Regions from separate parts of the Homo sapiens genome. Here region 1 is linked to region 2. The links are contacts of gene promoters, found by promoter capture Hi-C in human tissues and cell types (Jung and others, 2019). All regions are on one chromosome and are shown on one strand. Each heading gives the region's core, a stretch centred on a gene start or on the middle of the fragment in contact. The rest is flanking DNA. Distances are from core to core; before and after follow the strand shown.

Evidence for each region. Contacts are between HindIII fragments. The study calls those that stand out against the background at their distance.
Region 1: a contact is called between a fragment that was not itself captured here and the fragment with the promoter of SMARCD1 in region 2, in 1 of the 25 tissues and cell types used here (aorta).

What each region holds. Positions count from the first base shown.
Region 1 is chr12:50,350,545-50,354,685 of GRCh38, forward strand. It overlaps FAM186A (family with sequence similarity 186 member A), which reads right to left. Exons shown (of 8, transcript NM_001145475.3): 4 at 1-4,141. Among named protein-coding and RNA genes, the nearest start is that of FAM186A, 44 kb to the right of the region's middle. The HindIII fragment of the contact is 3,491 bases long and covers 284-3,774 here.
Region 2 is chr12:50,083,771-50,087,652 of GRCh38, forward strand. It overlaps SMARCD1 (SWI/SNF related BAF chromatin remodeling complex subunit D1), which reads left to right and starts at 1,572. Exons shown (of 13, transcript NM_003076.5): 1 at 1,572-1,776; 2 at 2,391-2,578; 3 at 2,851-2,893; 4 at 2,986-3,108; 5 at 3,593-3,715. The coding sequence starts at 1,600. RefSeq lists enhancers at 65-797, 1,155-1,414, 2,264-2,995 and a silencer at 1,485-1,924. The HindIII fragment of the contact is 20,407 bases long and covers 1-3,882 here.

The DNA.
Region 1 (4,141 bases), core at 779-3,278, 270 kb after region 2:
GAGGAAGGGGGCACCATTACTTTGGGTTTCTTGGTATCTGAAACTGAACTCAGTATCCAGGGCTTGTCTATAGGAGGGAATCGGGATTTCTGGTACCATTCCAAAGGTGAAATCTGTGATGTTCTGAGTAGAGTAGTGAGAGAAGATGGTGATGTTGTTGGCTTCATGAGAGTGAGAAGGGCCCTTTCATCAGTGTAAGGGGTTTGGTATACTGGTGTCCTATATTTGGTGAAATGGGACTGAAATGTTCTAAATGATTCTATAGCAAAAGTGTCTCGAAGTATCTGGGTTTCTTCGGAAGTGTCAGAGACCTCCGACATTTGGAACTTCTTAGTGGTGAAAGGAACTTGAGCTACCTTGAAATCTGGAGCACTAGGATGGATCAATACTGATTTAGATTTCAGAGAAGAAATAATTGCCAATCTTTTCTTAGCAACAGAAGGGGACCAACTTTTCTGGGGCTTTCCAGGGGCTGGGGACGGCCATAGTGTGGGAGGATGTCTAGAGGTGGGAGGGATCCATAATGAAGAAGCTCGCCCAGGAAGGGTCCATGTTGCCAGATGCTGCCCAGGGGTAGAAGGAGCCTGCAGATAGGGAGATTGCTCAGCAGTGGCAGGAGGCTGGAATTCCTGGAGCTGCTCAGAGAAGGTTAAGGGTCCAGATTCCAGGAGGTCCCCAGGGATGGAAGAGGCTTCAGGAACTAAGGGCTGCCCAGGAGAAAGAGGAGCCCAGAGACTTGGAATCTGTCCAGAAGTGGGTGGAACTCCAGCTATAAAGGGCTGCCCTGGAGTGGGAGGGGCCCGAGATATTGGGAGCTGCCCAGGGGAGGGAGGGGCCTGTGGTGCCGGGAACTGCGCAGAAGTGGATTGACCTCCGTATACCAGGGTCTGTCCAGAGGAACGAAGAGTCTGTGGTGCCCCAAGCTTCCCAGGCTCAGAAAGAATCCCCATTTCTAGGGGCTTCCCAGGGGCAAAGGGGCCTTGGTTGAGGGGAACCCTTGATATCTGCAAAGGAGTAGAAGAGACCCCGAATATAGAGGACTTCTCAGCAGTAGGAGCTGATGATGCCAGGGACAGCCTAAGACTTGGAGACAATCTTGATATGATGGATTGCCCAGTGGGGAGAGAAGCCTTCGATTTCTGAAATGGTCTATGGGACCACTGGACTTGCTTAAGGGTGAGGGGCGATCCCAAGGTATGGGCTTTATCTAAGGTGAGAGGAACCCCTAACTTCAATAACTGTTCTTGAGCCTGTTCTAAGTTCATAGGGGACTCCAAAGCGTGGGTTTGCTCAGAGGTAAGAGTGACAGCTGACACCCAGGCATTTACTGGGGTGATGGGGACTCCCAGTGCCTGGGCCTGCTGAGGGGTGAGAGTGATCCCCTGAGCCTGCGCCTGCTGAGGGGTGAGAGAGATCCCCAGAGCCTGGGCCTGCTGAGGGGTGAGAGGGATCCCCTGAGCCTGCGCCTGCTGAGGGGTGAGAGGGATCCCCAGTTCCTGCGCCTGCTGAGGGGTGAGAGGGATCCCCAGTTCCTGCGCCTGCTGAGGGGTGAGAGGGATCCCCAGGGCCTGGGCCTGCTGAGGGGTGAGAGGGATCTCCAATTCCTGAGCCTGCGGAGGGATGAGAGGGATCCCCAGGGCCTGGACCTGCTGAGGGGTGAGAGGGATCCCCAATTCCTGAGCCTGCGGAGGGATCAGAGGGATCCCCAGGGCCTGGGCCTGCTGAGGGGTGAGAGGGATCCCCAATTCCTGAGCCTGCGGAGGGATGAGAAGGATCCCCAGGGCCTGGGCCTGCTGAGGGGTGAGAGGGATCCCCAATTCCTGAGCCTGCGGAGGGATGAGAGGGATCCCCAGGGCCTGGGCCTGCTGAGGGGTGAGAGGGATCCCCAATTCCTGAGCCTGCTGAGGGGTGAGAGTGATCCCCAGCTCCTGAGCCTGCTGAGCGGTGAGAGGCATCCCCAGGGCCTGGGCCTGCTGAGGGGTGAGAGTGATCTCCTGAGCCTGTGCCTGCTGAGGGGTGAAAGGGATCCCCAATTCCTGAGCCTGCTGAGGGGTGAGAGGGATCCCCAGTTCCTGAGCCTGCTGAGTGGTGAGAGGCATCCCCAAGGCCTGAGCCTGCTGAGGGGTGAGAGGGATCCCCAGTTCCTGAGCCTGCTGAGTGGTGAGAGGCATCCCCAAGGCCTGAGCGTGCTGAGGGGTGAGAGGGATCCCCAGTTCCTGAGCCTGCTGAGTGGTGAGAGGCATCCCCAAGGCCTGGGCCTGCTGAGGGGTGAGAGTGATCTCCTGAGTCTGCGCCTGCTGAGGGGTGAGAGGGATCCCCAGGGCCTGCGCCTGCTGAGGGGTGAAAGGGATCCCCAGAGCCTGTGCCTGCTTAGGGGTGAGAGGGATCCCCAGGGTCTGGGCCTGCTGAGGGTTGAGAGGGATCCCCAATTCCTGAGCCTGCTTAGGGGTGAGAGTGATCCCCAGGGCCTGGGCCTGCTGAGGAGTAAGAGGGATCCCCAGTTCCTGAACCTGCTTAGGGGTGAGAGTGATTCCGAGAGCCTGCGCCTGCTGAGGGGTGAGAGGGATCCCCAATTGCTGGGCCTGCTGAAGGGTTAGAGTGATCCCCAGGGCCTGGGCCTGCTGAGGGGTGAGAGGGATCCCCAATTCCTGAGCCTGCTGAGGGGTGAGAGAGACCCTCAGGGCCTGGGCCTGCTGAGGGGTGAGAGGGATCCCCAATTCCTGAGCCTGCTGAGGGGTGAGAGGGATCCCCAGGGCCTGGGCCTGCTGAGGGGTAAGAGGGATCCCTAGTTTCTGAGCCTGCTGAGTGGTGAGAGAGATCCCCGGGGCCTGGTCCTGCTGAGGGGTGAGAGTGATCCCTTGAACCTGGGTCTGCTGAGGGGTGAGAGGGATCCCCAGGGCCTGCGCCTGCTGAGGGGTGAAAAGGATCTCCAGGGCCTGGGCCTGCTGAGGGGTGAGAGGGATCCCTAGTTCCTGGGCCTGCTGAAGGGTGAGCGTGATCCCCTGAGCCTGGGCCTGCTGAGGAGTGAGTGTGATCCCCACTTCCTGGGCCTGCTGAGGTGTGAGATGAATGCATTTAGTGAGAGGCTGGCCAGAAATAGGAAGAGCTCCAGGCAGGGAGTATTGTAGGGAGGGGGGAGGTGTGATTGATATGGGCTCCTTTTCATCAGGAAGGTTCTCTAATGTCTTCAGATTCCTCTGAAACTCTTTTCCTTCATATGACCGCTGTACATCTTTCAATACACTCTTCCACCTGGGAGATAATGTCATTGGAGTTTGGATGACCATTTTTTCTAGCTCTTTAGGTTGTGTTTCCTTCATCTGCATCTGATCCTTTGTTTTGATCTGCCTTTCGAGGTCCTCTAGCCCTCTCTCTGGCTTCTGCTTTTCCTTCCCTTTCTCCCTTCTCCTGTGTGGCCCCAAATGTTTCGCTTCCTTCTGAATCTGCCTCATCTGTCCATTCTCCTTTTCCAAGAGCAACCCTTGTGTTTTCATTTTTTGGGTCCCTTCTTCCAGCCGCTGCAGGCTTGACTTTGGAAGCTCTTCTTCCTCCTGTCCTCTTTGCTTTTGCTTTTCCTCTTGCTCAGCCTGCTTTGGAGTTGCCTGTTTTTGCTCTTCCTTCCACATCTCTTCTTCCTGCCACTGTTTCTGGCTCTGTTGTTCTTGCTTTCCCTCCTTCATCTGGAGCCATGCCTTTTTTTCTTCCCAATTCTCACTTATCTTCTCATAGTGCTCCTTCAAGAGATTTCTTTCTCCCAGCAACTGCTGTTTGAGACTCATGCCAGACATTTGTTCTTGACCCTCTTGCAAATATTGCTCCTGCCTTTGTTTTTCCTTCTCCTTGTGGTCTTTCTGTACTGTTGAGACTGTTGGAATATCTCTTTCACTTTCTATTTCAGCCAAGATCATTTGTATTAAATTGTTAATTACTGGATCTGTGCTCTCATATGAGAGGAGGGTACTGCTTTCAGATTTTGCACTAATTGGTGACTTCTGAAAATGCAATCCTGGCATAAATGAGACTACCTTTTTTTGTTTTATAGGTTTCTCTCCAACTTGTTCTTCCTTTTTTGTATCTTTGTATTTTCTCAAGATTTTAGTCACAGTTTCAGCCACTTTTTGGAAATATTCCTCCATTTTTG
Region 2 (3,882 bases), core at 322-2,821:
TATCAGGAATAGTTTGAACCACTGGGCAGGGAAAGAGGGAGAAGTCAAAGGCAACAAAGTTCCAAAACAGAATCCCCAATACAAAGGATGCTTTAGAGAGAGAGAGCAGAGTCAAAATTCAAGATAAACTGGAACTTATCATAAAATCTGGAAGCAGGCTGGCACGGTGGCTCATGCCCGTAATCCCAACACTTTGGGAGGCTGAGACAGGTGGATCACTTGCGGCCAGGAGTTCGAGATCAGCCTATGCAACATAGTGAAACCCCCATCCCTATTTTTTTTTTCTTTTTTGAGATGGAGTCTCGCTCTGTCGCCCAGGCTGGAGTGCAGTGGCGCGATCTCGGCTCACTGCAAGCTCCGCCTCCCGGGTTCACACCATTCCCCTGCCTCAGCCTCCCGAGTAGCTGGGACTACAGGCGCCCGCCACCACGCCCGGCTAATTTTTTTGTGTTTTTAGTAGAGACGGGGTTTCACCGTGTTAGCCAGGATGGTCTCGATCTCCTGACCTCATGATCCACCCGCCTGGGCCTCCCAAGTGCTGGGATTACAGGCATGAGCCACCGTGCCCAGCCCCCCATCCCTATTTTTTAATATTTAAAAAAAAAAAAATCTGAGGCCAGGCACAATGGCTCACACCTGTAATCCCAGCATTTTGGGAGGCTGAGGAGCACAGATCGCTTGAGCTCAGGAGTTCGAGACCAACCTGGGCAACATGGCGAAACCCCATCCCTACCAAAAATACAAAACAGTCTGGCATGGTGGTGCATGCCTGTGGTCCCAGCTACTTGGTAGGCTGAGTTGGGAGGATCACTTGAGCCTGGGAGGCGGAGGTTGCAGTGAGCTGAGATGGTGCCACTGCACTCCAGCTTGGGCGAGAGAGAGACAGACCTCATCTAAAAAAAAATAAAAAATAAAAAATAATAATCCGGAAGCAGGTTAGGTCAGAGAGAAAGTTAGGATGAAGTTCCCACGTGAGGTACTTATTGAGGCACTTTATCTGTGGAATGAGTCCCGGGCTATGAGCAAGGGTATCTGGAATCTTGGCTTCGGCTTTATGGCTAACTTGCTGGTTGACCTTTGCCAAGTCATTCACCTGTGAGTTCAGCTTTCCCATTTGTAAAATGGAATAAACTGTGTTTCCCTCCTCAGCCCCTGATAGTTATAGCAGTAAGAAAACGAAACGAAAAGCAGTCAAAGCGTTTTGGAAAGTTAACGCCATGCGCCAAGATGAAGCTATTACTCCAAGCCCCTCTTCATCAGAGGGCTCGAGTTGGGGTTGAGACTGGGGCTGAGGCTGTGGTCCGTCCCCCTTTCCAGGTCCTTGTCTTCCTCCCGTCGGCCTGGGGGCGCCCGCTCACGCGGCCTCTCTATTGCAGAGCTCTTCTCTATGGTTTTCCCTCCCGGACCGTGAAGGCGGGAGGGCGTGGCCAGCACGCCTTTTCCGCTAGTCGCCCCGCTCTATCCCATAGTCTCGCTGCCCTGAGCCTCCCGTGCCGGCCGGCCGGCCGGGGGAACAGGCGGGCGCTCGGGGGGCGCTCGGGGGGCGGGGGGAGTTCCGGTTCCGGTTCTTTGTGCGGCTGCATCGGCGGCTCCGGGAAGATGGCGGCCCGGGCGGGTTTCCAGTCTGTGGCTCCAAGCGGCGGCGCCGGAGCCTCAGGAGGGGCGGGCGCGGCTGCTGCCTTGGGCCCGGGCGGAACTCCGGGGCCTCCTGTGCGAATGGGCCCGGCTCCGGGTCAAGGGCTGTACCGCTCCCCGATGCCCGGAGCGGCCTATCCGGTGAGTGGGGCAGGAGGAGGGGCGCGCGGGCCGGGGGCGGGGCCGAGCGGGGACATGGGAGTGACAGGGGTGGGGGGAGAAGTAGGAGGGACTCCCTTGGGAGGGGTTCGGGCTCTGGGTGGGGGTTGGGGGAGGCAGTGCGCAGAAAGAGAGGGGGAGGCAGTTACACACCTGCTCCTAGGGGCATTGTTTCCCTGGGGAGTCGGTAGAGAACCTGGGTGGGTGAAGTGGGTCCAGGGATACCTGTATGAGGGCCGGAGTGCAAAGGGGCTTGAGCAGCTCCAGTGATCAGAGGAACACAGAACGTGTAGCTGACAAATTGAGGTCAGCTTCTAAAGAGATAGTAGCTAGCAGAGTAAATGTGGAACTGGCGATGTCCGATGTGTCCCATCCAAAATAGACTGAGAATTTGAGTATAATCTGGCTCTCGCTTAGCTTTTGGACTCTGTTTTTCTATGGAGTCACTACTGGAGCAAAGGGTTCTCCTCTCATTGTCCTCCATTCCATCCCTAAACCTTACTTCATTCAAAGATCTCAGGCGTTCCCTGCTTTTCTTTCTTGATGGGGTTTAGCAGGTGAAACCATGACATCTCTGGGTCCTCTCCCCTCTGTAGAGACCAGGTATGTTGCCAGGCAGCCGAATGACACCTCAGGGACCTTCCATGGGACCCCCTGGCTATGGGGGGAACCCTTCAGTCCGACCTGGCCTGGCCCAGTCAGGGATGGATCAGTCCCGCAAGAGACCTGCCCCTCAGCAGATCCAGCAGGTCCAGCAGCAGGCGGTCCAAAATCGAAACCACAAGTAAGATGATCCTGGGGCAGAGGGAGGGAGGGAGGGAGCCTGGGAGGACACAGGTGGTGGGAGTACCTGAACCAAGAAGTGGTGGTGCTGTGTCAGCAGATGGTGCTACAGAACTCATCCTTGAGAATGCTTGGTGGTGGTGGTGGTGGTGGTAGTTCTTTGAGAGAAGCTTTGCAGTCCCTTCACATTACTATAAATGGACGTGCTGACAGCTTATTTTCACGTTCTGACTAGTTCTGTCCCAACCTGATAATAGTATTTATTCCCAACAGTGCAAAGAAAAAGAAGATGGCTGACAAAATTCTACCTCAAAGGGTGAGTCCAGGCTATATGTCTTCTGGAAAGTGTGGTGAGTTTGAGTATAGAGATGATCATCCTAGATTTCAATTAATTTTTCTGTTCCTAAGATTCGTGAACTGGTACCAGAATCCCAGGCCTATATGGATCTCTTGGCTTTTGAAAGGAAACTGGACCAGACTATCATGAGGAAACGGCTAGATATCCAAGAGGCCTTGAAACGTCCCATCAAGGTAACACAGGAAAGTACTAGGCAGAGAGCCAAAGGAGAGGACCCAGGAACCTTCAGCAGAATTAGGATGAGAAATCAAAGGCACAGCACAACTCTCCTTGGCATTTAAATTGCATCTCTCCCTTCCGCCTACAAACTGAGAATTACATTAGGAGGATAAGAACAGAATGGCAAAGGGGGAGGGGCTCTTGATGTCTCTTGCACTACAAATATACCCTTGTCCATGTTTTCGCTGTAACTGCTCTGCTACCTTGGGAACCTGGCACCTTGCATGACTTTGTCCACCTGGCATCCCACTATATGCACTTGTACTTAGGCTGATGGCCAGTACTCCTCTTCTAAATGGAATCTTCATCCACCCACCCAAGGGACTGGGTAGACAGTAAGCCAGTCTGTTAGGAGTAATTTTGGGGTTTGGGGAGACCGTTGTCTTCAACATCAGACCACTGAAGCCCCACGATCAATCCTGTTTCTGCCTTCCTCAGCAAAAACGGAAGCTGCGAATTTTCATTTCTAACACTTTCAATCCGGCTAAGTCAGATGCCGAGGATGGGGAAGGGACGGTGGCTTCCTGGGAGCTTCGGGTAGAAGGACGGCTCCTGGAGGATGTGAGTTCAAGGTCCACAATGGTTGGCATCTAGGGTGGGAGCTGCTGGGAATGAACAGTGTTGTCTGGTCAGCAGGAAGCCTAACTGGTGCTCACAGCTCCTTTTGGGAGCAGTAAGGAGAGGGACACTGTTCCCTGCACTGAAAGACAGTGGTCCTTTGTGTTTGC